6 separate regions of the Homo sapiens genome follow, and all the other regions are linked to region 4. The links are contacts of gene promoters, found by promoter capture Hi-C in blood cells and fetal thymus (Javierre and others, 2016). All regions are on one chromosome and are shown on one strand. Each heading gives the region's core, a stretch centred on a gene start or on the middle of the fragment in contact. The rest is flanking DNA. Distances are from core to core; before and after follow the strand shown. Region 1 has its middle 96 kb from the start of VEPH1. Region 2 has its middle 260 kb from the start of SHOX2. Region 3 has its middle 240 kb from the start of SHOX2. Region 4 holds the start of MLF1 (myeloid leukemia factor 1). Region 5 has its middle 110 kb from the start of VEPH1. Region 6 has its middle 150 kb from the start of VEPH1.

Region 1 (4,310 bases), core at 293-2,792, 970 kb before region 4:
ACTCACTCCTTGCTGCTCCTTCCTCTGCTATGGGGAGTATTTCCTAATCTCTGGGGCAGCAAGTCTTGCACTTATACAACCAAGCATCCTCACAGATTTTTCATACTGTTTATGCACAAGCGTCTTTTCAGTTTTCCTTCAAAGGTTAGACTTTTGAAAAATCAGAGAACATGCTTTGATTTTCTCTTTTAGGCACCATCACTTGTTCCCGGACGCAGTAAGGCACTCAGCTGAAAGCGTGTGGATAACACTAAGGAGTAATGGGAATAGAAGGTTAAACCTTCTCTGAAATGCATTTGATTTAGCCTTGGCTGAAATTGTGACCAAAGCTAGAGGATCACAAACTTCAGCACTCAGTTTCATGGCTAATTTTGAAGAATGGGAGACTATTGGCATAGGAATTGGTGAATATGAAGGACTGAGTCAGCCAGAAATTCTTAATATATAATAGTGAAATACAAGAAGATTATTTTAAACACACTAAGAATATAAACAGCAAGATTAGGATGAAGGTCTCTTTTCTTCATGTTTATATTTCTTCTGTTTCTTGTCATAAAATTATTCCCTAACTGGTTTGCAGTAATTTCCTTGGAGAAGTACTGACTTTAAACTTTTATTGTTATCTTCTATGGACTATAAGTTTAATCTTAGAGACATGCTTGCTTGGAATGGGAAATTGCATTTACTCACTGTAAGTTTGTGAAAGGAAATTGAATTTGATAGAATTTTATTGCTGGAAATCAAGTCACTCACCTAAACATGTAATGTACACACCAGCTCTGTGTCCTCTCTAACTTCATTCTGTTATTTTACTCTTACATAAAGGTCTTGACTTCATTTAGTTAAAAAGTATCCAGCCCATCATTTAGCTTTTTCCTTGTAATCGTGTTGGAAAAACTCTGAGATTTAACAGAAATAGTTTTAAAGAACAATATGCATTTAAGTTTTTCTCTACTAGTGAAAAAAAGGAAATACCAAGGACAGGGGGAAAACATTGATTAATACTTCACACTGTTATTCTGCCACAAAAGCTTAAATATCTTTCTAACATGTCTTAGTGGCAAAAACACAACTTCAGAATTGTGCCGTTAATGGGAACATGAAAAAGCCACAGAAAAGCTGAGGAATTAGGACATGGACATAGTCAGTTTCTCAGGTTTAAAGTGCCCAGTTCTGTCTTGGTACTCGGGGTGATACTACTATAGAAGAAACTGGTAAAATCCATTCACATAAATGCATTGGTCATGACCTACTTGTCTCCTCCACTGTTACATAAGATTTATGGAGGCTGAGATTTTGTCTATTTGTTGGATCCCAGGATATCCTATAGAAGCATGGTAGGCAGTCAATTAATATTTGTTAAAATAAAATTTAAAAAAAGAATGAATAGCTTCTCCCAGGAGTCTGGGTAGACTTTCACTCTATATTTTTTAACATGCTGTAGAAAAATGGCAAGTCTTTGTGTGAAGGTGTTAAAGTGGTTGGCATGCCAACATTAACCATGGCTGTCCTTAGAGCAAGAGCCCTTCCCTAGATTCCTGAAACCACACACCTCGTTGGTCTGATACAGGAATTCTATGGAAAGCTCGCTTTGTGTCTGCACATTTTTTAGTAGGTGAGCTGCATCCCTCTGTCTAGTGGGACACACTTGCATATTCACAAATGGGTATTTTCCTGCGAGTAGTTTACGTAGTTTTGTCATATGAATGGTTAGTGAATTATGTGGATGAGGCCTGGAGGAAAAGGAGAAAGAAAACATCCAAACCACTTTCACTTGGCAGTATATCTCCACAAGGTAACACATCTGCCGGGGCTTGAAGAAGGTGGAGACACAGCTGTGTTGGGTCACTGTGAAAGGACATGATTCTACCTTCATGTCTTCATGTCCTTCCTTCCATTACCCTATCATTGCTCCTGAGCCTCTCTGGCCTAATTCTGAACTGACAAGTTTAAAATTTATTCTTTATATTTTTAAATGTTTAAGACGTATGCAAAGAATAAAAGTAACTCTACCCTCCCTTTTCATTGTACTGCAGCTCAGAAACTAGGTAGTAAAGCTTAATGTTTAGGTCAGGAACCAGGGGACACAAGCACACACCTGTACATGTGCATTGTTTCGTGTTTAGTAAAATATTGAAACTAAATTAACACTGATAATTTAAAATGGCCTAAGTGTAAAATTTAACATTCTTTCAAGACTAAGAAGCTGAGCTTCATAATCTTTACTTTTTGTTCTGTTTTGTTTTTTAGTATAAAAGCTAATTACAATTTGGTTTGAACGTTAAAGTTTTTTTTAATGTACTGCATCTACAGCACATTTTAAAATTTATGATGAAAGAACTTTGGTTCATAATCATCATCATATGTTTTTATAATTCATTATAACTTGTTATTCAATTTACTTTTCAATGATCAAAAAGTTTTCATTAGCAGCATGTTGACTACCATAAACATACCTTAAATGTACAAAGTTATCTGGTCTCATCCAGCTCTCGCTGTATCAAGTACATTTTTTAAGTGAGTAGAAGTGCGATGCCAAAAAGTCTTGTTTGTGAACAAGCAAATCTAGTTCACAAAATTTTCATGGAATTTTTCACATGGAATTTTTCACAAAAATTTCATGGAAGATTTTGCAAGTTGGTATTTTGTTTTGGGATGGAAATCAGCATTGTTGAAATTGAAATGTAAATATTGAGTAATATTTTATTTTCGATGTTCCCTTCTTTCCCCAGGATATTCCAACCTCAGTTATTCAAAGACTCCATCACCAGAGAGAAAGTCAGATTGTCACTTTGGGGAGTCCTCTGCCCTGTATATATCCCATATTCTTTCAGATAAGTGAAATTAGCATGCCTGGGTATTACAGTTGTTTATGCCATACTACTATAAATACTTCTAAGAGAAGATTTATCTTGACTTAAGACTTGGAATTTTGTTAAATTAATGCACAAATGTATATGACCATAACTTAACGATGATTTGTATATTAGCTGAGTCAAGTGGCATACATAAAAGCAATGAAGGTTTCTTGGACATTCTACACTGAAATGTTTAGAATGTTTAAAAAATTTATCTTTCTATTTTCCAATAGTGTGGTAAATGTAAAGTGCTTAGCACTTTGCGTGACACATGGTAGGGCCTCAAAAAATATTAGCTATTATCATTATAAACCACAGAGGCCCTGTTATGTGGCAGTTTGTATCTCTCTCTTGACTAATAGAAGCACTTTGCAGATGATATGTCACACAATCTAGAAAGGTAGTGCTTAAAGGAATAGACTTATCTCCTTATTTTACAAATGAGGACATTGAGGCCCTAGGAAGTTAAATGACTTAGACAAAATCACAAAGGTAAAGTGGAAAGCCCAGGAGAAATCCCCTGGCCTTCAGCCTGCTGTGATTTCTACCAACTATAGATTAGAACTTTTCAGACAAGTGGCACCTGCAAGTGTCTTCGAGCAAGGCCTCAACCTCCAGCACAGCTCTTGCCACCTACAAACACCAGGGAAGAGCAAGATTGAGTTACATGGCTTGGAAGAAGAGTGAAACACCTCGCAAGACCCAGAGAAAACTCCACATCCATTTGCAGCTAATTTTAAAGCCCAAATAAAAGCACAATCTTTGGAATCACTCTATCTTTGGTCAGGCAAATGTTTAAAGAGCAATATTATATACATCTAGGGTAAGAACAATTCATTAATTTAGATGAATGAATTGTCAAAAGGTTGTTTTGCCTGTAAATGTGAGTAAATTGAATATCAAGTCATCATGAAATGTAAACACGAGATAATGTTCCTGTTTCATTTTCCTTTTTCCCGAAAACATGGGTAACAGATTTTTACGTCCAGCATTACTTTTGGAAAAAAATTAAAGTATGCAGTGCTTCTTATGAAGAAAGTTATTTCCCTCACTTGATAGGAAATCTGATCCAGAGAAATGAGGGGCTGTGGAGATTATGTCCTGAATCTGGAGTTCATGATGAAAAAATATAAGTCAGTTTAAGTTCTGGATAATTGATAGTCTATTTTTAGATCAACATCTCTTGAGAATATTCTTTAACACCAAGGGAAATTAAAATGAAATATTGTCTTTGCTCTTTTAGAGCTTTTCTTTTCAAGAAAAGAAAGGGGATTTAGAGCTTCTCTTTTCAAAATATGCAATTGGTCCTAACCTGACTCCTCAATTCAGCAGCCTTAAATTGAGATAGAGTCTAGCAGGTGACCAGCAAAGCGTTTCTCTGACATCTCAGGGGTCAGTAACACCGCTAAGGAATTTAGATGTAAAGTTCAGAAAGCTTTGGACAGGGCATGG
Region 2 (4,232 bases), core at 1,118-3,617, 730 kb before region 4:
ATCACAAAAAAAAAAAAAAAAAAAAAAATTGATGAGTTCATGTCCTTTGTAGGGACATGGATGAAATTGGAAATCATCATTCTCAGTAAACTATCGCAAGAACAAAAAACCAAACACCGCATATTCTCGCTCATAGGTGGGAATTGAACAATGAGAACACATGGACACAGGAAGGGGAACATCACACACCGGGGACTGTTGTGGGGCGGGGGCAGGGGGGAGGGATAGCTTTAGGAGATATACCTAATGCTAAATGACGAGTTAATGGGTGCAGCACACCAGCATGGCACATGTATACATGTGTAACTAACCTGCACATTGTGCACATGTACCCTAAAACTTAAAGTATAATAATAATAAAAAAAAGAGAAAAAAAATCACAAATAATTGGGAAAAAAATCCTCCAGTGACTTTATATTTCACTAAAAATCTAAACTCTTACCGTGGTCCACCTATCCTGACATTCCAGCCACACTGGCTTCTTTCATTTCCTCCAATAGTCCATGTTCATTCCCACTTCATGGCACGTTCTTGAATGTGATCTGTTCTCAGCTTGTCCCCTCAGCCCCAGGTCTTCAATGGCTGGCTCCTTTCTAACATCTCCTCTACTGCCCTACCCTAAGGAATGCCCAACCACCTGCCCCATCACTCGCCATCACATCACCATCTTTGACATTCTTCCTTGCACATTTCCCCCCTTTAGAATGCCAGAGACAAGGCTGGGTGCAGTGGCTCACGCCTATAATCCCAGCACTTTGGGAGGCCGAGGCCGACAGATCACAAGGTCAGGAGTTTGAGACCAGCCTGGCCAACATGGTGAAACCCCATCTTTACTAAAAATACAAAAATTAGCCAGGCATGGTGGCGCACGACTGTAATCCCAGCTACTTGGGAGGCTGAGGCAGAAGAATTGCTTGAGCCCAGGAGGTGGAGGTTGCAGTGAGCTGAGATCACACACTGCACTCCAGCCTGGGCAACAGAACAAGACTCTGTTTAAAAAAAAAAAAAAACAGAATGTCAAAGGCAAGAGGGGACTGTCCTTGCTTGCCCTGTTCATGTCTGAACCCCCAGAGCTAGACAGTGCCTAGGACAGGGTAGGTACTTAAAAAAATACTTGTCAAATGAACAATTGCTATGGAGTTTTATAATTCACCATTTTAGGTGATATTAGTCCGGACCAGATCCAGTTACTTTAGAAGCAGAAATATCAGTAGAACAAGAACAAGATGCCTGATACCATTAAACACATCTCAAGTTTTGCCTAATTATGGACATCCACAGGGTCGAATTTGCTGTAGGTTTAAGTGATGTGTCAGCTTTTTCTGGTTTGTTCTCCTATTTTCTAATTCTTTTCTCACTAAAACAAAAACAATACTTCTTTGGCAGTATTCTTCCATAGGAAGTAAAAAAAATGTAAAATAACAATATGTTCCAGATATCTCCATGGTTTCACTTTTCATTGCAAACAAAAATAAAAATAATTGTACCATAACTACTTAGAAGATAAAATAATCTAAAATTTCTTTAATTAAGTAATTAAAAAGAAACCTAAACAAACTAACTTTAACAATGATATTTTAATGTGCTCACACTTCCAAAGAATATTGACTGAAAATAGTAATAACTGTAATAGCTAACATTTATTAAGCTTTTCTCTGTGCCAGGTACTATCGTAAGCATATTTCTTGTTTTAAATCATTTAGTTATCACAAAAACTCTCTATGATTAATACTATTTTCATTTTATATATAAGAAAACTGAAGCACATAGAGTTTTAAGTAACTTGCTCAAAGCCACACGGTTAATAAATGTGACAAGAATCCAAATCCAGGGATCCAGATGCCAGAGTTTACGCTCTTACACTGCACACTATACAGCTTCATTAGGTTAGAGATACCACATTATATTAGAGATAACATGTATAAAATTTCTATTACAAAGTCTAGAACCTAACAGATACTTGATGCCTGGTAGATGGTATTCTTAGCAATAATTTCCATAGCATCTGAGATGAAATTCAGGGGACACTAGCTCCTATCAGGGTACAGCCTCAGGTCTTTGATGCTAAGCTTGTTAAGAAAAACTTATCAGAGCTGAAGTCAGGCTGTTGGCCTGGGCTCAAGAACTCAGAGGTCAAGATTTAGGAAGAAATCGAGGCAGCAAACAAGAATGTAAATGAGAAAGGTAATTGATGAGAATCACATTGTCAAATCAACATCAGGTACACTATGGAATGAGGCTTGATAGAAAAAGTCAAGCTCAGGCACAATATAAATCAGAGTGTAGGTGACAAAGAAAACAGCAGGCTGAAACCAATGATATCAGAGATGCAGAATAAGACCAGAGAAAGTAGAACCATGGGCCGTTATGCCTATTGGCCACTGAGGGAATCCTTCCACACCTCACTCTGGTTCACACACTAACCTCATCTTCTCAGAACTCTCTACCTCCCGCCAGGTTCTGACAACTCTATTTTATAAGTAGAAGAAACTCATTTATGTACGTAGATAATGTCCTAACTTTCCAGAGGCCTCACTTATAATCAGTGATAGAAATCGAATGTATTCTTTGCTGCTTTTCTAAAATCAAAGATGAAACTATCCCAATACTAAGAGAAATCATATCTTCTGTTCTTGCTTCCTTATCTTCCTTTCTTATTGGAAGATAAGCTTTAGGAAAAGAATGGAAGGGGAAAAGCCAGGAACAGGATGGATATTTTTCAGTGTTGTCTCAATCTTGATGATTGGTTGCTGAGGGGACTTTTTCCTCTCATCAGCCATGTCTCCACTATGTCTGGATAGTCCCAAGCAGAGAAAGTGACTTTTACTAATGCTTTGGAAGAGCCAGGAACATTCCATGAGCTTCCAGGTATATTTTTAGTCAGGAGTCAGAAGTACGACCCAGAAAATAAGTCTTTACTAAGTACAATCTGACTTTATGTCAAAAGCATAAAATATATATGTAATTTTAGTATAAAAAATGAAAAACAGTTTTCACCTAAATAGTGCCATTTTAAACATTGTCCAAAAGCCATTCCCTGGGTGAAGAATTGTAAAAAGATTTACTGGAAGCAACAAATGTCTTCTAGCCTTTAAAAAAAAATTTATTGCTATATCATGGTTTTACATATTTTGGGAGTATGTGTGATATTTTAATACATATATACAATGCATAATGATCAAATCAGAGTAATTGGGATATCCACTACCTCAAATATTTATGTTTTCTTTGTGTTGGGAACATTACAATTCTCTCTTGATTTACTTCTTATATTCCATTATTTACAAAGTCTCTGTGAAACTAAGAACATGAAATCATTTCTAGGTTAGATCTGAAGAGAAGAAGACATAGAAAGCTCTTCCTTTTAAACTGGGGTGGGGGCAAGAAGGGAGTCAAAGATGTTACTGAAGTAATAATGCATCTGAGCAATATAGGGATTTTCTGAGTGATGAGTCTAATGTTGTATTTTTTCTTAACTTCTTCTGGAATAAGTTTCCAATTTATTAGAGTCCCATCTGTAAAGTAATAGAAATTATCTACTTATAGGCACCAAGAGAAGGAACTTTCCTGGTATGGCAATCTGGTACCTCATTATTTGGTGAAAAATGTCTACACATTCAGAATTATGAATGTCACCAATACGTCTAGAATAAGCATTTGTCACTCATTAATATTCATATTGCTGAAACAAAACAGTTCATACCGTAGCTGCTCATAAATCTGGCAGAAATAGGGGAAAAGAAAAGGGAATGGGAAGAGATAAAGAAAGAAAGAGCTCAGGGATAGATTGAACACAAGAGGGGACTCCATTCATTCAGTCTAACATCTGCTCAGCCTGAAGTGGAACCACCTGTTAGTTTATTAAATTGTAGGATTAATTTATGTGGAAATAAGAGAGGAGGGAGAAAGGAGTCTTTAATTCATACTCCCTCCAAAAAAAATCTTCTATTTATTCCCATCTTTTAAAAGAGCCTTTTATGAACAGTAATTGGTGCCATGAATACCTAGCCCCATTATATAATTAATTTAAGAAATGAAATGTGTTTCATAACTGTTATGTAGGCACATTGCCTATAATGTTTTTGTTGGCCATTTCTTCTGTCATCCTTAAAGAAAAGACCACTGGTACCTCCCTTAGCAATTCCACAACAATAGTAGCAGCAGCAGCAAAATGAGCAAGGCTAAAAATCTATACGGATGTGAGCAACACCAAGGAAGATCTTACCTTCCAT
Region 3 (4,342 bases), core at 1,417-3,916, 700 kb before region 4:
CTATATTTGATTTGTTCATTATAAATTGAAGTTAAATATGCAAATACAGAAGCCCCTGCCTCCTGGTACCTGAAAAGGTTTTAAGTCCCCTTAAAATATCGACGTATCGACATTATAAGTAGTGAAGGATAAAAGTTTCTTTTTTTTTTTTTTTTTGGAGATGGAGTCTCACTCTATTCCACCACGCCCAGCTAATTTTTGTATTTTTAGTAGAGACAAGGTTTCACCATGTTGGCCAGGCTGGTCTGGAACTCCTGACCTCAGGTGATCTGCCCACCTCGGCCCTCCAAATTACTGGGATTACAGGCGTGAGCCACTGCTCTTGGCCTGATAAAAGTTTCTATTATCACTTCAACACCAAAAAGAAATGAAACTAAAATGAGAAAAAGAAAACAAGTCTGATCCTATATATAACAAAGTATAGATGACAATTGCAACTAGTTGCCAATTCTTGGAAGGAACAAAAAAATGTATCAGGTGTTGATTGGTTTCTCTGGATTTAATACAGCTTTCATTCAAACCAATAGCAAAATAACAGCATTCTTCACTTTATCCATGCCCAGAAGATCCCAGGAAAGGTCAGAAATTTTCACAAATATACCCAAGAACTTCAGCAATTTTTCCAGGAAAATAAAATGAGGCTTCAATGATTTTCTTTTGAATGTCCATGGTGAAGTCATCCCTGTTGACTTTCTCATTGCTAACCCTGACAGATCCTCATTTGTCAATGATTTTACATGTGATTCAAATAGTCTTCAAACATCACTTTTCTCAACTTCATGAAATCTTGCACATTTTGCAAAATTTCCCATTTCCCTCTGCCGTCAATTTCCCTTGTGTTTTCACATTATTGTCAAGGGTTTGTCACATCAGGAAACCAGCAGGAGCCAACAGACAAGGATGCTGATGCCATGAGCAGAGATAGACACTAATGTTGAATGGGAGCTAATAGGAGGTCATTTATTAATGTTTTATGTTACAATAACTTTTACTCAAGACTAAAGAAGCTTAGATATTGGATACTCAGATGATGTTCTCTCGTAATTACTTTGTCTTGCATCCATGTGGTAAGTGTGGAATGAGATAGCCCATGCCTGCAGAATCTGAGGAACTCATGTCCAAAGCCTGTCCCTTTCCACCGCCACACACCGTCTCCATCACAAGTCATACTCATCACCTGGCACCACAGAGAAAGGTGTGAGGGTATATTCAATAGCCCCAGTAGGAAATCATTGTACTCACACCCCAAATCATATGAGAAACATCTAGTCATAACGCTGACCTGACCTGCTCACAAGGGCTCCATCCTATGGACACCAGCACTGTTGCCCAGGCCTGCTCTGGGTCCCAGTCTTCCTAGTGCTGTCCTTTGGAGACACATAACTTGGCTTCTCTCTTACCAGCTGGGCAAAGAGTGAAGATGGTAGCTCATAGGAATTAGTAGATGTGAGGAAAAGGAATCACTAGTCCTATCTGCTATGATCCATGAATAGGGACAGTTTTACATGTGTGTCTAAGGAAGGCAGTTTAGAAGAAAGGAAGATAAGGCCAATCACATGAGCATTTCAGCTCATATTCTTGAGAACCAGAGACATCAATAGAATTAGAACTCTAGGCCTGGGAGTCAGGAAGCAATTACTTGAATAACAGTCTTTCTTTTGGCTACCACATCAGCAACAGTCTCTCTTGTGACTTTTTAACTTAAGAACAGATTCTGGTTGAATGAGTCATCTTCTTTTTAGGCCAAGAAATAGAATTGCTGAAATCCTTAGGGTAACACTTTGGAGAAGTGGTCCAAAACTAAAAACTTGTAATTCTAGCCAATCACATTCTCTGCAAAGCTCACTGAGACAAAGTTTCCCAGTTGACAAATATGGTGAGGGCTTAAAATAGACAGTGCTCTGGAGGTAATGAAATCTCTCACTTTCGTATTTAGCATTTCTAGTTGATTCCAAGGATGGCAAAGCCATAAAACAAAGAAGCCTGTTTCAAGGATGGGTAGATTTGGGGAGAAGCGTGTCCAGTGTTGAATATATGTTAACTAAATTTTGGTCCCTAAGTGCTTGATAACATTATCACAAGAAAAACAACATAGCATCTATTGGTAGTGAATAGGAGTGATATAAGTTCCAAGCAGGACATTTATTGGAAGGCAGAGACAGAAAATGTAGTCTGAAATAAATGTACTGCAAATAAATGAAAATTATGTGAAAAGACTGAAGATGGCTACCTGCATAATGGGCCACTTCCACTAATTAATCACATACCTGCCTAGTCTAATTGCAGTGAGACTGGGAAATTTGAGTGAGTACATGGAATATTTGATCATCATTTACTATATCTGCCATGGCCCACCCTTTTCATCACCAAATATTTCTTTGTTTCTTTCTTCCAACACAGAATAGCCCTAATTCCTCCACAGGGGAGACCGGCCAAAGTTCCATCCATCCACCATTGCATCCAGTTCAAAGTTTAATCCTTCTGGATGATGTCCAATTTGTTTCTCCATCAGAGCCAGATGATGTAACTTTTCTTGGTTCTGAGGTCCTGATCCAAAAAAGACAAGTTATCTACTTCCTGTCCACATATATGCATGTGCATACATAACCACCCAGTAAGGTATATGTAAACATTTCCATTTGAAAAGAAACTAATGGAAGACACACAGCAGCCTCTGACCCGCAGCAATTCAGGAATCCAGCTGGGCAGACCTCCTACCCTCAGGATGGAGGCCCCTTGGTTAAGCCACGATTCTGCTCTCTGAGGAGACTTTCCTTTTTCATCGTTTTCCTTGGCTCTTTGACTCATCCTGGAGGAGATTCTTCTTTTTCTTTATTCTGTTTAGCCACATTTAAAGTGAGCTTTAGGGAATTTGAACTCCTTAGGGGCATCCCAGGTTTCTCAAATTGCTTCCGATTAGGGACCCCAGGGTTGTTTTAAGTTCTGAATATTCAGATACCTTTACATGGTTGCTTTAGTTATGTAGTTCCCTAAAAACTCTCTTTGCTTTTCACTTCACTGGACAATAAGCACATCCATGGCTGGGTGCGGTGGCTGATGCCTGTAATCCCAGCACATTGGGAGGCCGAGGCAGGTGGATTGCCTGAGGTCAGGAGTTTGAGACCAGCCTGGTCAACATGGTGAAACCCCATCTCTACTAAAAATAGAAAAAAAAATTAGCTGGGCATGGTGGCTGGCACCTGTAATCCCAGCTACTCTGGAGGCTGAGGCAGGAGAACTTCTTGAACCTAGGAAGCAGAGGTTGCAGTGAGCCGATGAGGTCGTGCCATTGCACTCCAGCCTGGGCAACAAAAGTGAAACTCTGTCTCAAAAAATAAATAAATAAATAAATAATAAGCACACCCAAAGAACTTTACAGCTTGTAGGTTCTTAGATCTGTTTTATTTCTTTGCTTCTTCACCTTCATGCCTCTTTTTCTGAACTCCATTGTGAATACCGATATTAGGCTATTAGGTTTGAATGAGAGGGTCACAGCTTGAGCAATATTTGCCTTGAGGCTTATTAACTAAGTGAGAAACCTTTTCCCCTTCAAAGTCTTTTTAAATACGACCTCTTATTGTTTGGGTTCTAGAAGCAGTCAACTCTTCCAAATTTTAAGGCCCTGAATTTCAAACTCTCTCTGTACCTTTTCTTTTCTGCTTTATAAACTGACCACTTCTCTTCTGAGCTCATCTTTCTTGTAATATCTTGTCAAGCATAGCCAATAATATCACACACTACTAAAGTCCTGTTTTTCATTATCTTCTCATAGCACTGCAAATTAATTAGGTAAGTAGTTGTCCTGCCTAGTTATTAGAAGCAATAGTTTACCTGAACATTTTGCCACAAAACCATAGGGATCATCATCTTTTCGCTTCCAATATTAGTTTCCTCACAACCCACCCCGATGGCTAGGGCAATGTTATGTATTTTAGGTTCTTCTAATGATAGTACCTCACCTCAAGACAAATTTTATATTGACACAAGTTGTCACAACAAACCAGCTCTGAAATCTTAGTGGCTAAGCTCAACAAGAACCCATCACTCACTCACACAAAGTCTCATACACATCAGCAGGAGCTTCCTTGCTTTTGCTGACTAAGGAGCCCATTTTCATCTGTGACCTAGAGCCTGATCAACAATGGATCAGCTTCTAAAATCTCAGTAATGCACTTGCAAAGCTGAGGGCCAGCCCCCAGCACATGCTGACAATCAAGGGGCAGAGGCCCACCCTCGATGGACATCAGTACCTTCTGCCTCTTCATGCCACCTTTATGATGGCAGCATGTGCTTTTGTGCACACATCTTTTAAAAATGCTGGTTTGTAAGCTTTTATGGGTCA
Region 4 (4,385 bases), core at 1,522-4,021:
GCTATTACCCTATTAGGCAATTTTCAGTTTACTTGGCTCATCTCATTCCTCACTCAGAAGGTGAGTTTTAAGGCATATGAGTAGGACTGTACATTATATACACCAGGCAAATGCTACTTTAGCACTGCCCTGGAATGCTTTTCCACTAGACATCCACTTCCTTCCTGTGGGTCTTTGCTCAAATTCCCCTTAGTGAGGCGTACACAAAACTTGCTATTTATAATTGCACCTCTCCATACTCCTTACCCTGATCAGCTTTTCTCCCTAACACTTATCACCTTACAATATACTATTTTCTATTTTGTTTATTTTGAGTCTGTCCTTACAAGAACATAAACTCCGGGAAGGCAGAGATTTTTGTCCGTTTTGTTCAATGATGCCTAAGGTCGTAGATCAGTCCCCAACACTGGGTAGTCACTCAATAAATATTTGTAGAATTGAATTTATGTGATGTGAATATATTCCCACTGAATTTTGTACTTTTTAGTTTGGGTCCATTTAGCTTGTCAGCATGATTTTGAAAAATGATTACCCGCTTTCATCCTGCATCTTTAAGTATGACTCATCACTCACATACCATATAACCAGCACTCACAGAGGAAAGCTCCAGGTACCCAGCTCAGTTCAATTACTAGCTGTGTGAACCTTGGCAATTTATTCAGCTTCTCTGTGTCTTGAATGCATCATCTATACATGGGGATAAAAGCCATCTCTACTCCATAAAACTGCTAATGAGGATTCAATGAGGTAATGCATATGGAGTGCCTACAACAGTGCCTGGCACACATTCAATAAATATTAGCTATTATGATTATATTTACAGCCAAGTCCAGGACCCTCTCCTCTCAGTCCTGTTCTGCATCTCTATTCCTCCCATGCTGGAGTATTCATTCTCTCCTGACCCACGCTTTCTTTCATTTCCACCTCTTACCCATCAGTTCTGAAAATGATGTCAAGGTCTCTTCAGTGCCAACTCTGCTCTGCCCTCCTTTTTTTTTTTTTTTGCATTTGTCATTAGATCCAAACTGCTTTCACAAGGTTCAGCTAATTCCCTGACTAACCTGTGCCTGGACTAAAGCTTTTATAACAATGTGATTCTAAAAAAGTTCCCACAGAAACTAGAGGGTAACATTACAAATTTACTTGGCCTTAATCCAGAACTATTTTAACACCATCTTTTATCACATAACTTACTCCATTTCAAGTTTTTTTTTAAGTGTGGCCTCCTTCACATCTTGTGCTTATACTATTTTAAAGAGAAAAACAATTTAAGGTCTTATAAAACAATTTTGTTTGCCTTGAAATTTATTTAGAAATTTTCGAAATTTTGTGTATATGTTCTCTGAGCTTTATTCTGAGTCCAGAGGAAAAGAAAATATCCTCTTTCCTGGATGGGCTGTGCCATCTCATCTTGGGCTGTGAAGTCTGCCCTACCCCATGCCACCAGTCTCAGGGGAAGGAAGCTGCCAGAGAACTTGGCTAAAAAAGGGGGATGGGGAGTAAAAGATCCAAACGATTAAATTTCCAGCTCTCAAAATAACCCCTGACTACTCCTGTCACCTCCAAATCAGGGCTTGCACACTTCTTCATGCTGGCAAAGTGCCACCCCTCTGGCCTGATCCCAGGGGGCCCTGATGAGCTATGGACGCCCCTTTATCTCTGCAAGACAGCCACGTAGAGAAGCTGGGGAGCTCACTGAATTAAGGGTGGACATGCAAGATGTATTTTCTCTTTTCTTATACTCTTACCATTCTTCTCCTTAATCTCTCTTCTGTCTTCCCCTCCATCTGTCTCCAGGCTCCTGAAAGGCCCCGTGATAGTGTTTTCTAAAACTTAGTAATTTGAGTACCACTATCACGATGTTCCTCTCCCCTGCTCTGCCTACCCCTCCGCCCCACCATATCCAAATTCCACCTGTTCTATTTGATAGCTTACTTTTTCACTTAAAAATGCAAAATCTAGCTCTTGATGTATATCACTGATTTAAATTTAAAATCAGTTTCCTTGCCATAAATAGAAAGCTCCCTGATAAATGTAATGCAAATAAAAACATATAGTAGTGGAATTTTAGTTGGATATGGCTGCTTGCTGCAGGCCTGTGCCTGAAACCTGCTGTTAGGTTAAGAAATGCTGGAGAAGTGTTAAAAACATATCAGCATCGCAGTGAGACTTGATCTTTGAAAGAGAGACACAGAAGGACAACCGAAAAGAGAGCAGCTTTCTCAAGAGGTAAATAAGTTTGTTGAAATCTGATAGGCTTCATCCCATTTCCTTCAACAACTGAGTACACTATTTGCTAACTGTACTAAAAAACGTTTTGCACATTTTTTCTTATTATTTGCTCACAGCTTTTGACTACCAGAGAATGTTTCGGATACAGGACTAATTCCTGTGGATGACAGAATGCGACCGTTGAATGGGACATTGGGTGTCATCTGGTCCAAATCTTGACCCCTTTTCATTTTCCCCGAAAGAAAGACTTGCGGCTCGGAACCGAGGGCGGCATGCCCAAGGTCACAGAAAGGGTGGTCTAATGTTTTGGTTCCTGCAGCCCAGAGAACAAGCTATCCCATCCCACAGGAGCCTTGGCGAAAAGCTCCCCGGCCGGCGCAAGGCCAGACTTCTCGCCTCCACTGTGTTGATTGCGGTTGCCAGGGCAGCGGCGCATTGCTCCCCGCCTCGTCCTGGTGACGTCACAGAGCAATGTCCAATGGGAAAGCAGCTCGGTGTCACGCACCTCCTATCCCGGCGGGCACCGCCTGCGCCGCGGCGAGTGAGGCGTCGTCCGTACTGGAGGCTAGCTCTTGTCGCGGCCGCGGCGAGTTAACATCGTTTTTCCAATCTGTCCGCGGCTGCCGCCACCCAAGACAGAGCCAGAATGTTCAGGATGCTGAACAGCAGTTTTGAGGATGACCCCTTCTTCTCGTGAGTTACGGGAGCCAGGAGTCCGGGGTCGCGCGGGAATTAAGGTATCGAGGGGAGCTATTTTAAGGGAAAAGAGCGAGTTTTAGAGGGCGAGAGAGAATTCGGAGTAACTCTGGAGGCGGTTTGAAGGAGACGAGGATTTGGAGGCCTGGGAGGGAAGAGAGAGGAGGATTTAGGGGTGTGTGAGACAGGGAAGAGACGGATTTGGGCGCATGAGGTGGAGAGAGGAGGGTTTGGACGCGTGAGGTAGGCGGAGGGAAGTTTGGGGGCGTGAGGTGTGGGGAGGAGAGTTAAGGCTGGGAGTGGGGGGAGAAGAGTTGAGGCCGGGAGGTGGGGGGAGGAGAATTGAGGGCATGAGGTGGGGAGAAGAGGTTGAGGGCGTGAGGTGAGGGAAGGGTTTGGGAGCATGAGGTGGGAGGGAGGAGGGTTGAGGGCGTGAGGTGAGGGGAAGGGTTGAGGGTGTGAGGTGAGGGGAAGGGTTGAGGGCGTGAGGTGAGGGGAAGGGTTGAGGGCGTGAGGTGAGGGGAAGGGTTGAGGGCGTGAGGTGGGGGAAGGGTTTGAAAGCGTGAGGTGGGGGGAGGAGGGTTGAGGCTGTGAGGTGGGGGGAGGGTTTGGGAGCGTGGGGTGGGAGGAGGAGGGTTTGGGGGAGTAAGGTGGAGGGGGGAGGGTTGAGGGTGTGAGATGGACGAAGGAGGATTTGGGGGTGTGAGGCGTTTGGAGGAGGGTTGAGGGCGTGAGGTGGGGGGAGGGTTTGGGAGCATGAGGTGTGGGGGAGAGTTGAAGGTGTGAGGTGTAGGAGGAGGGTTGAGGACGTGAGGTGGGAGGAGGATTTGGGAGCATGAGGTGTGGGGGAGGGTTGAGGGTGTGAGGTGAGGGGAAGGAGGGTTTTGGACCGCGAGGTGGGGGGAGGAGGGTTGAGGGCGTGAGGTGGGGGGACGGTTTGGGAGCATGAGGTGCAGGGGAGAGTTAAGAGCTTGAAGTGCAGGGACGAGGGTTGAGGGCGTGAGTTGGTGGGGAGGGTTTGGGAGTATGAAGTGCAGGGGAGGATTGAGGGCATGAGTTGGTGGGGATGGTTTGGGAGCGTGAGGTGGCGGTAAGAGGGTTGAGGGTGTGAGGTGGATGGAGGAGGATTTAGGGGCTGAGGAGGATTTGGGGGCATGAGGTGTGGGAGGAGGGTTGGGGAGAAGGGTTGAGGGCGTGAGTTGGTGGGAAGGGCTTGAGAGCATGATGTGGGAGGAGGGTTGAGGGCGTGAGGTAGGGGGAAGAGGTTTGAGGGTGAGAGGTAGTGGGACGAGGGAGGGTTGGGGCGTGAGGTGGAGGGAGGAGGGTTTGGGGGCATGAGGTGTGGGGAAGAGGGTTTAGGGGCATGAGGTGTGGGGGTAGGAGGGTTGAGGGTGTGAGGTGGACAGAGGAGAGTTGATGGCGTGCAGTGGGGGGAGGAGGGTTTGGGGGCGTGAGGT
Region 5 (3,991 bases), core at 218-2,717, 960 kb before region 4:
CTCCATCTCAAAACAAACAAACAAACAAACAAACAACAACAAAAAACAAAAAAAACCTCACCTCCCTCTCTCACAGCTCTTGTCTCCTTTTGGGCCTAAGGAAAACACCAGTTCCACAGGAGAGGATGAAGGTAAATGGGAGGTGAGACGGCTCTGGAACTGGCCTCCTATGAAGCCACAGTAGCTTAATTCCCTCACGAAGAGACTTCTTCAGCCAACCACGTCTCAGGCTGCACCCACCAATCACAATCCCAGAAAGAAGAGGCAAGGGAGTCTCTGAGACAGGCTGTCCTCAGACCAGGAGCTGAGGTCAGTGGTGCTCTGCAAACTTTCATCCGAACTTTGTCTCAGCCTTCCTTTTAAGCTCCAGGAAAGACTAGAAGTCACAATCTTAGAGGAAATGGACTTGGGTTTTCATTAAATTTCTCCTGTATGGGGCATTGGGCAATGGGCATGTGAGTTCAGCTTCTGACAATGGTGATTCCCATTGCTCTGTTTGAATAGAAGCCACACTTCAGAGGAGAAAGAACAGGGAGTAACGGTGTCTGGATTTCTGAGTCACCCTGGTCAGGATACACCAGGTCAAAGTGCTTACCTTTCAGTCGTTTGGATGATTTACTGCTACCTGACTGGTCTCCCTTGCCTTGATTTTTCCCTGTCTATGTTTACTTTACTCAGAGGAAATACCTATCTCCTTATCTTACCCTAATCAATAGATGTCTTTGGTGGGTCTCCACTGCTTATCCATTCAAACTCCTCACCTCAGAGTTGCAGGTCCTTCATCACACTGGCTCACCGCTCCCTTCACAGGCCTGCTTTCCTGCCAAGCCACATTTCTAAGAGTTCCCTAAACTCAACCTCTCTCTTTCAGCTTTTCCACCCATTGACTTTATTTCAGAATAATTCCCTCACCCAGAGCACCACACTGCTCTTGCTACAAACCTCTCTATCTGCCCAATTCCAGCCATCAAAGCTTACCCCTAATGTCACCCAAAGTCTAACACGGTCATTATCTCAATGGTGATGATGAGGAGAAGGATGTTGGTGCATAGCATGTATTATTATGTACCAGGCCACATGTTAAGTGTATGGGTCTTTTCCTCAAAACAACCCTACAACATAGGTGGTGTTATTATCTCCATTTGACAATGGAAAAGAAACAACCAATGCACAAAGAGGTGACATGACGCTTCACTCCACCATGGATTGTAGTAAGTCATACCACTTTGCATCTTTCCTTCTAAGGGAGCATGAGTGGGGCCCTAGGCCTCTTCTTTCCCACCCCCTGCCTACTGCAGTGCCTGACACATGGTACCTACTGAGTATATTGGGGTCATTTCAGAAGAGCACAAGAATTCAGCTGCTTATTGTGTTTTCTGGCAATTGGCTATTCTCTCATTTGGTGACTTAGTTTTATATTTCATAGATCAATTCTAGGGTGGACAGAGGAGAGTCGTCTGCCACAGGAGAAGGAAGCATCATGTAGGTTCCTGATGGAGACAGGGAGGAAGGCGGGGGGAATCCTTTCTTCTTCTTTGGGATGGGGGCAGTCACTCCATGTGGCCATCTGTGACCCAGGGCAGCGTATCACTGAATGGCTCCAGTTCTTCAAGCCTGGACAGGATTGGCCATAGTTCTTATGGGAGTGAATGGGTAGGGGAGGGTTAAGAGGAATAAAACAAAAGGTTTGGAACTGGTAACTTTGGTGTATATGTGCATGCGTGCATGCGTGTGTGTGTGTGTGTGTGTGTGTGCTGTGTCACAGAATGAACACTAGAGACTCAGGGCTGATTAACTTCACCAATCATACCCCAGAGAGGGGAAAAGCCAATCTCTCTGTGCCCCAGTGCTTTTGTCTATGGTGGGGGGTACAGGGGGTCATGGCTTCCCATGTGGAGCCCAGGCTTCCTGTCCCAGCTGGCAGTGGAATCTGCATTTCCAAGATCACAGAGACCCAGGCTCAAGCTTGGTGTTGCCACTTATAAGTCAAGTGCCCTCTGGCAAGGAACTCACTCGTTCTGAGCCTCAGTTTGCACCTGTGTTAACACTGGGTAACATACCTGTATTTCAGGGTTGGTGTCAGGGCTGGATGAGACAGCATACACAGACCATGGGCATGAGGCCCAGGCTGGGGCTCAGTGAAGAAGAAGGTGGAGTTTCATCTCAGGCTCCCGCAGTCCATGTGAACCCACGTGGACACTGCTCTATGCATATGTGGTGCTTCTCTGCTATGAAGGCCTCAGCCCCTGGGCCCCCTCAGGCCCAGCTTTCCCCAGCAAGTGTTTCTTCTGCTTCAGGAGAAGCCTGCCTTCAGGGGGGCCAAAGCCACATTGTATGCCCACTGGGTTGTCCTTTGCACGGCTTTAAGAAGCAGGATTCTACTCTGTTTCTGATATCCCATAATAAGAAATGATATATTTTGATACTTCTTTGATTTAATGGGTCTTTAGTATGCATGAGCTAGAATTTTGGAGACCATGACTATAATTTGGGGCTTGTAGGTAAGTACAGGTCGGAGGCTGGACATAATTCACCACCTCTGTGTGTCCTTGGGTCTTCCATGTGTCCCACTCATTCTTTGGCGAAGATTGCTTTAGGATGTTCTATTTGCTTCCTTATCTCCATGCCCATCTTCTGAATTCAGGCAAAGAATAATTCCACTTTAAAAGTTGCTTTAAGAAGCCACACTCCATGGATGAGGAAAATGGAGGTCGAAAGAGATTTAAGTAACACACGCAGGTAATTACAGAGGGTGAGTGGCAGATCCAGAGCAGTGAACAGACCCTGAGTTCCCAGAGTAGAATCTTTTTCAGCTCATGTTGCTATTGGCCTGCATCCGTGAGATGTTCCCGTGTCCATATGCTTTCTATACAATTCAATGTTTTTTCTTCAAATTGACTCATATTTTTATTTCAATAAATTTATCTTAAAGGGAAATTTTATATCATGACTTTATGAAAAGGCGGTATCACTTGCCATTAATAGGAAGTTATTAACTAAAGACAATGCAAAATAGTAAATGAAATTTTAACTGTATATTGTTGCCTGGGCAAAGAAAACATGCTGGAAATCCGTTCTCTTTTATTAGAAAGGATGATTGGCAGGTTTCAGGGATGTTAAAGACCTAAGAGGACAAAACTGAAACTGATTCTGGACCTGATTCCAATGCTATCTAATGTCATCAGTGAGAAGAATTTTTCTCCAATACAATCAGTAGTATAATTCTCACACTTGGAGACCACTGCAGTGGACAATGTAGCCACATCAGATCCCCTTGTTTCTTTAGAGGTCAGCAGACTCCTTATCTTTCCTTGCCCAGCAAGCTCCATCAAGAATATTAAACTTAAAAACAGTTCATAGACATTTTGTTTAGTGACCAAATACCCAATGAACGCCTGACTCCCTTTCATTTTCTCCTGTTGAAGAATACATGTTGAATTTAAGCATACATTTTCATAAATTTTCTTATGGACTATTTTTTCACCTCAGAAACAATGTCAAGGTAATTAAATTTTAAATAATAAGTCAGGGAAGTTGTTCTCAGCAATGGAAAATGCTGTGATTTAAATTGCCAATATACAAATACTTTTAGTTCTTGAAAACCACTGCCAACTGTGCCTGCCGGAAGTTATATGCTCAATAGCTTGCTATGATTGATGCAGGCATTAGTCATTAAAAAAAAAAAAAAAAAAAGGCGAACTAAGTAATTTGCATCCAAAGGATGACATCAGTAACACCATGAACTTGTTGTTCTAGAAACTGACCACTAGATGGAGAACTTGCAATTCAAAAATAAAATAACTCAGCCTCTTCGGTGCAAACATTTTACCAAAGGATCTATTGTACTTACAAACCTGCATCTACACAAGCGAGAAGGTACTACTTGCCCTGAAGATGGTATTCTTTTCTTTTCTACCAGACTTTGATATTCCTCTCCCTCTTTCCTCAGGACAGGTCACTTCTCCCCACAGTCGGTGTTTCTGTGTGAGTT
Region 6 (4,196 bases), core at 807-3,306, 920 kb before region 4:
ACACAATAAAAAACTGGAGTTGCCTATTAGTTCAGTGAAAGCCACAGGAGTGCCACTGTGGCGAGCATACACATGTGCTCTTTTATGCATGGAAAGCTTGGGGGCCCCAATCCCACCCCCAATCACCATTGAGGGGCCTCTGTGAGAGCCTGGTGTCTACCTTTGCCTTGGTCCATTCCTGGATTTCTGGAAAGATAACTGGAATATGAATGAAGCTTTCTGGATGGTGTGGAGCACCATCTTCCTACATGGATGGATGCTTCCTGTGCAAGCATCCATCACTGGGAGATGACAGATACTCCAGGAGGCTAGAAGCCAAGTGAAAAATATTCCTGTTTTTCTTTCTCCACTTCGGCATATACGTATTTCAAGAAACAAGCCTTTTCCTCACCAACCTGTCCCACAGCCACCCTGAATTTCCCTGGTGTAAATGGACATGGTCATTTCATGCTAACCTCATGGAATACTCTGAATACTAGTGAAACAGGTCCTTGGTCCAGCCCTGTGTAGTCATTTATTGGAAGTAATTTTGAGTAGAAAATGTCCTTCTCAGGATTTTTAGCTCTTATATGAAAGTATTCCAATGCTACTCTCAAGAACCCAGAAAGGTCAGATATTTTAGTTTAAGCCCATCTCTAATTAATTGTAGTATTTATGTTTAAATAGATCAATAGCTGAGTTTGACCTCAATGTACAATGTGAGCTTTACAATATCATTGCAATATGAAGGAAGCTGTGATGTGTGGGCCAGGCAGACCACTTATATCGAACTCAGCAATATGGACGAGAAGCTTTTGTTCTAATGAACATTGTATTTCAATGTTAAAAATGGGAAAGCCACACTTGGGTTCCATCCACAGCTGAGCTCTGAACCTGAAAGGAACAGGAGGATCCTGGGGGAAAGAATTATAGTCTCCTTTTAGCAGTAAGACAAACCCAGCTGGCTGGAAACCACAGCCATGGCTCCAAGTCAGTTTGTCTTCTTGAAGAGGAAAAATAGAGAAAAATGAACAATTCTCTCATAACTTACACACATTATTCTTTTGCATTCAACAATTATTTTGAGAATTATTCTTAAATGAATCATACTTGGGGGAAAGTGGAACTCTGACAAGAGGGGTTGGGGCCAAATTTGATTGAGAAGATATGTTAGCATCTTTTCAAGAATGTTCATTTAGTGAATATTTGCCTGATCTCCTGACTTTACAGATGAGAAAACTGAGGCCAGAGAATGCATGTAATTTGCTCCAATTAGAAAACTCTATTATCTGGAATCCCAGTCCAGAGCTATTCAGAACATACATATACACTACACTTGGACCCACACACTCATAGAGAGACATGTCCACAAACACCAACACCTATGCACTCCTGCATATACACACATGTGGTCCCAAGGACAAAAAAAAGCCTCCTCAAAGAAGCAACTTGAAGGGCATTGGGCCAGCACTCAATCTCTGATTCTCTGTGTGAAATTACACCATTAAAATTCTTTATTTTGTATCTTGACTTTTATTTTCTGGAGACATCTATTAAAATGCAAATGTTCTTAGGGAAGAGTAATGCTGTTAACTATCTGATTATTAATGAAGAATTTAGGCAGAAAATATGGCTTCCTATGAAAGTGGTGCACTTCATGTGTGCATGCCTGTGTATGTCTGTGTTTGTGTTTGTGTGTACCTTTGTGAGTGTGTGACTGTATGCAAGTGTGTACATATGTGTCTCTATATGTGGGAGTCCATACATGTTAGTGTGTGTCTCTATGTGAATTTGTCCATGTGTAATGTAAATGTATGTTCTGAATAGCTCTGGATTAGAAGTCCACATAATAGAATTTCCTAATTGGAGTAAGTCAATTCTCTGGCCTCAGTTTTCTCATCTGTAAAGTCAGGAGATCAGATAGAATGTCTTTCAGGTTTTCTCATTCTCAAATGCTCTCTGTACAATTTTGCCCAGAGCCAGCCCTTTCTGGCCTGTGTAGTAAACTTTATTGTCTGATTGTAAATTAAATAATTACTTTTACCTCTCACCAACAATAAGCACAAGTTATTCAATAACTGTGAAAAAAATTCACAAAAGTACCAATTTTTTAAAAGACGGAGCAAAATGAGCAATGTTTTCCTGTCATTTTAAATTTATCTGTTGTACTTTCTGGAAGATTTGTTGAGTATCTTTGGAAGAATAGATGCTAAACTATCTCCCTGCCCATTCTATGGTATCCTTACAAGAAATAAATGGTGTGTCAGAGCTCAGAGTGGACCTCTGCGGATGAAGGTGCTGACCAAGCAAAGTACTCAGCTTGTGCAAGATGGTCTGTTTCCTGAGGAAAAGGGAAGGAGGAATGACGGGAAATAATCACAGCTTCCTTTCCTACGTATTACAAAAACCAGAATATTAACAAATCACACTTATCCCAGACTAGTCTATTTTTCCTTTTTACTTATCATGTTATCTATATGATTCCCTGGGATACCATTTATTAGCTACATGACTTGGGCAAGTTGTCTAACCCTTCTGTGCTTCAGTTTCTTCATATGTAAAGTGAGGATAATAACAGTAATTAACTCATAGGGCAGGTATAAAGTCTAGATAAGTTATTGTATATAAAGCCTTTAGAATACTACCTGGCACTTACTAAACATTACATACATATTAGCTAGTGTGTTTAATTTTGTTATTCAAAATATGAGCATTTTCATGCTAGTGAAGTGCACCATTGAAAATGGTAAACCTGGAAGCCAGCAGCTAGAAAATTCCAGGGCTTCCTTCTCTTGGCTTTTACGTCAATAAATTAAAATCTGATATTTGCATTTCCACATACTGAACAACAGTTGGGAGCCAAGTACCAGTAAATCTGTTTACTGTTGTTACAGTAAAACAACTGTATTGTTGCCTTGGTCAGTTCAGGCTGCTGTAACAGAATATCATACACTGACTGGGTGGTGTAAACAACAAGCATTTACTTTTTACATGTTTGCAGGCTGGGAAGTCCAAGATGGAGGTGCTGAAAGGCATGGTGTCTGGTGAGAGCCCATTTCCTAGTTCATAGATGGCTATATCACTGTGTCCTCACATAGTGGAAAGAGGGCAAGAGAGCTCTCTGGGGTCTCTTTATAAGGTCACTAATTCCATTCATGAGGGCTCCACCCTCATAAACTAATTACCTCCCAAAGGTCCCACTTACTAATGCCATCACACTGGTGATTAAGATTTCAACATACAAATTTTGAGGGGACACACACATGCACACATTCAGTCCATTGCGACGGTGTTTTCTGGGGTAGTAAAAATAGATTTCCATGCCCCAACACTGAAAGCAGGGAAAGCTTAGAGCCACCTGTTATCCTTACTGCTTCCTCTATATCATATTAATATGATATAATTTAAAATGACAGTTTGCCACAGCTTTTGAGCAGATAATGCACTTAATTTTGTAGTGTAGAAACATGAGTCTCTTTTTAATGCCATATATTTGATTTTTAGTAGCTGGTGAAAGCATTTTCCTCTAGGATGAATCTGTTCTATGCTGAACCAGGTTGTCTTGGATGAAGGACCTCTCTCCCACACCAGCTGGGTGTGCCTGCAGTCCACTTTCTCATCTATACTCACCCACCCTCCTTAACCAACACAATTATTTCATTAGCAGGCTAAAAATACACAGTCTTAACATAGATGTGCCTCACAGAACAATCTTTGTTTCGCTGTGAATTAATTAACTGTAGCTCTGTTTGTTTGTTTGTTTGTTTTTGAAACAGAGTCTCACTCTGTTGCCCAGGCTGTAGTGCTGTGGCATGATCTCAGCTCACTGCAACCTCTTCCTCCTGGCTTCAAGCGATTCTCCTGCCTCAGCCTCCCAACTAGCTGGGATTACAGGCACCTGCCATCATGCCTGGCTAATTTTTTGTATGTTTTTAGTAGAGACAGGGTTTCACCATGTTGGCCAGGCTTGTCTTGAACTCCTGACTTCATGTGATCCACCCACCTTGGCCTCCCAAGGTGCTGGGATTACAGGCATGAGCCACTGCGCCAGGTCTCAGTGTAGCTCTTAAAGCCACATTTTGACATGCAGCTGAAAAGCCTTTTTTAAAAACTTTTATTTTAGGTTCAGGGATACATGTGAAGGTTTGTTACATAGGTAAACTCGTGTCATGAGGGTTTGTTGTACAGATTATTTCATCATGCAAGAATTAAGCCTG

The links. Contacts are between HindIII fragments. The CHiCAGO score rates a contact against its expected background, and 5 or more counts as called.
Region 1: a fragment that was not itself captured here is called in contact with the fragment with the promoter of MLF1 in region 4 in 1 of 17 cell types (M0 macrophages); the score reaches 5.7 in M0 macrophages.
Region 2: a contact is called between a fragment that was not itself captured here and the fragment with the promoter of MLF1 in region 4, in 1 of 17 cell types (erythroblasts). The highest score is 5.4, in erythroblasts.
Region 3: a fragment that was not itself captured here is called in contact with the fragment with the promoter of MLF1 in region 4 in 1 of 17 cell types (M0 macrophages); the score reaches 5.2 in M0 macrophages.
Region 5: a contact is called between a fragment that was not itself captured here and the fragment with the promoter of MLF1 in region 4, in 6 of 17 cell types (M0 macrophages, M2 macrophages, endothelial precursors and 3 more). The highest score is 8.5, in M0 macrophages.
Region 6: a fragment that was not itself captured here is called in contact with the fragment with the promoter of MLF1 in region 4 in 1 of 17 cell types (M0 macrophages); the score reaches 5.1 in M0 macrophages.

Annotation. Positions count from the first base shown.
Region 1 is chr3:157,597,461-157,601,770 of GRCh38, forward strand. It overlaps the pseudogene SLC66A1LP. Among named protein-coding and RNA genes, the nearest start is that of VEPH1, 96 kb to the left of the region's middle. The HindIII fragment of the contact is 1,026 bases long and covers 1,030-2,055 here.
Region 2 is chr3:157,839,408-157,843,639 of GRCh38, forward strand. No RefSeq gene overlaps it. Among named protein-coding and RNA genes, the nearest start is that of SHOX2, 260 kb to the right of the region's middle. The HindIII fragment of the contact is 600 bases long and covers 2,068-2,667 here.
Region 3 is chr3:157,866,628-157,870,969 of GRCh38, forward strand. No RefSeq gene overlaps it. Among named protein-coding and RNA genes, the nearest start is that of SHOX2, 240 kb to the right of the region's middle. The HindIII fragment of the contact is 3,322 bases long and covers 1,006-4,327 here.
Region 4 is chr3:158,568,423-158,572,807 of GRCh38, forward strand. MLF1 (myeloid leukemia factor 1) reads left to right here and starts at 2,772. Exons shown (of 8, transcript NM_001369783.1): 1 at 2,772-2,925. The coding sequence starts at 2,879. It overlaps MLF1-DT (MLF1 divergent transcript), which reads right to left and starts at 2,644. Exons shown (of 5, transcript NR_104147.1): 1 at 1,749-2,644. The HindIII fragment of the contact is 5,771 bases long and covers 1,077-4,385 here.
Region 5 is chr3:157,614,555-157,618,545 of GRCh38, forward strand. No RefSeq gene overlaps it. Among named protein-coding and RNA genes, the nearest start is that of VEPH1, 110 kb to the left of the region's middle. The HindIII fragment of the contact is 992 bases long and covers 972-1,963 here.
Region 6 is chr3:157,651,615-157,655,810 of GRCh38, forward strand. No RefSeq gene overlaps it. Among named protein-coding and RNA genes, the nearest start is that of VEPH1, 150 kb to the left of the region's middle. The HindIII fragment of the contact is 2,535 bases long and covers 790-3,324 here.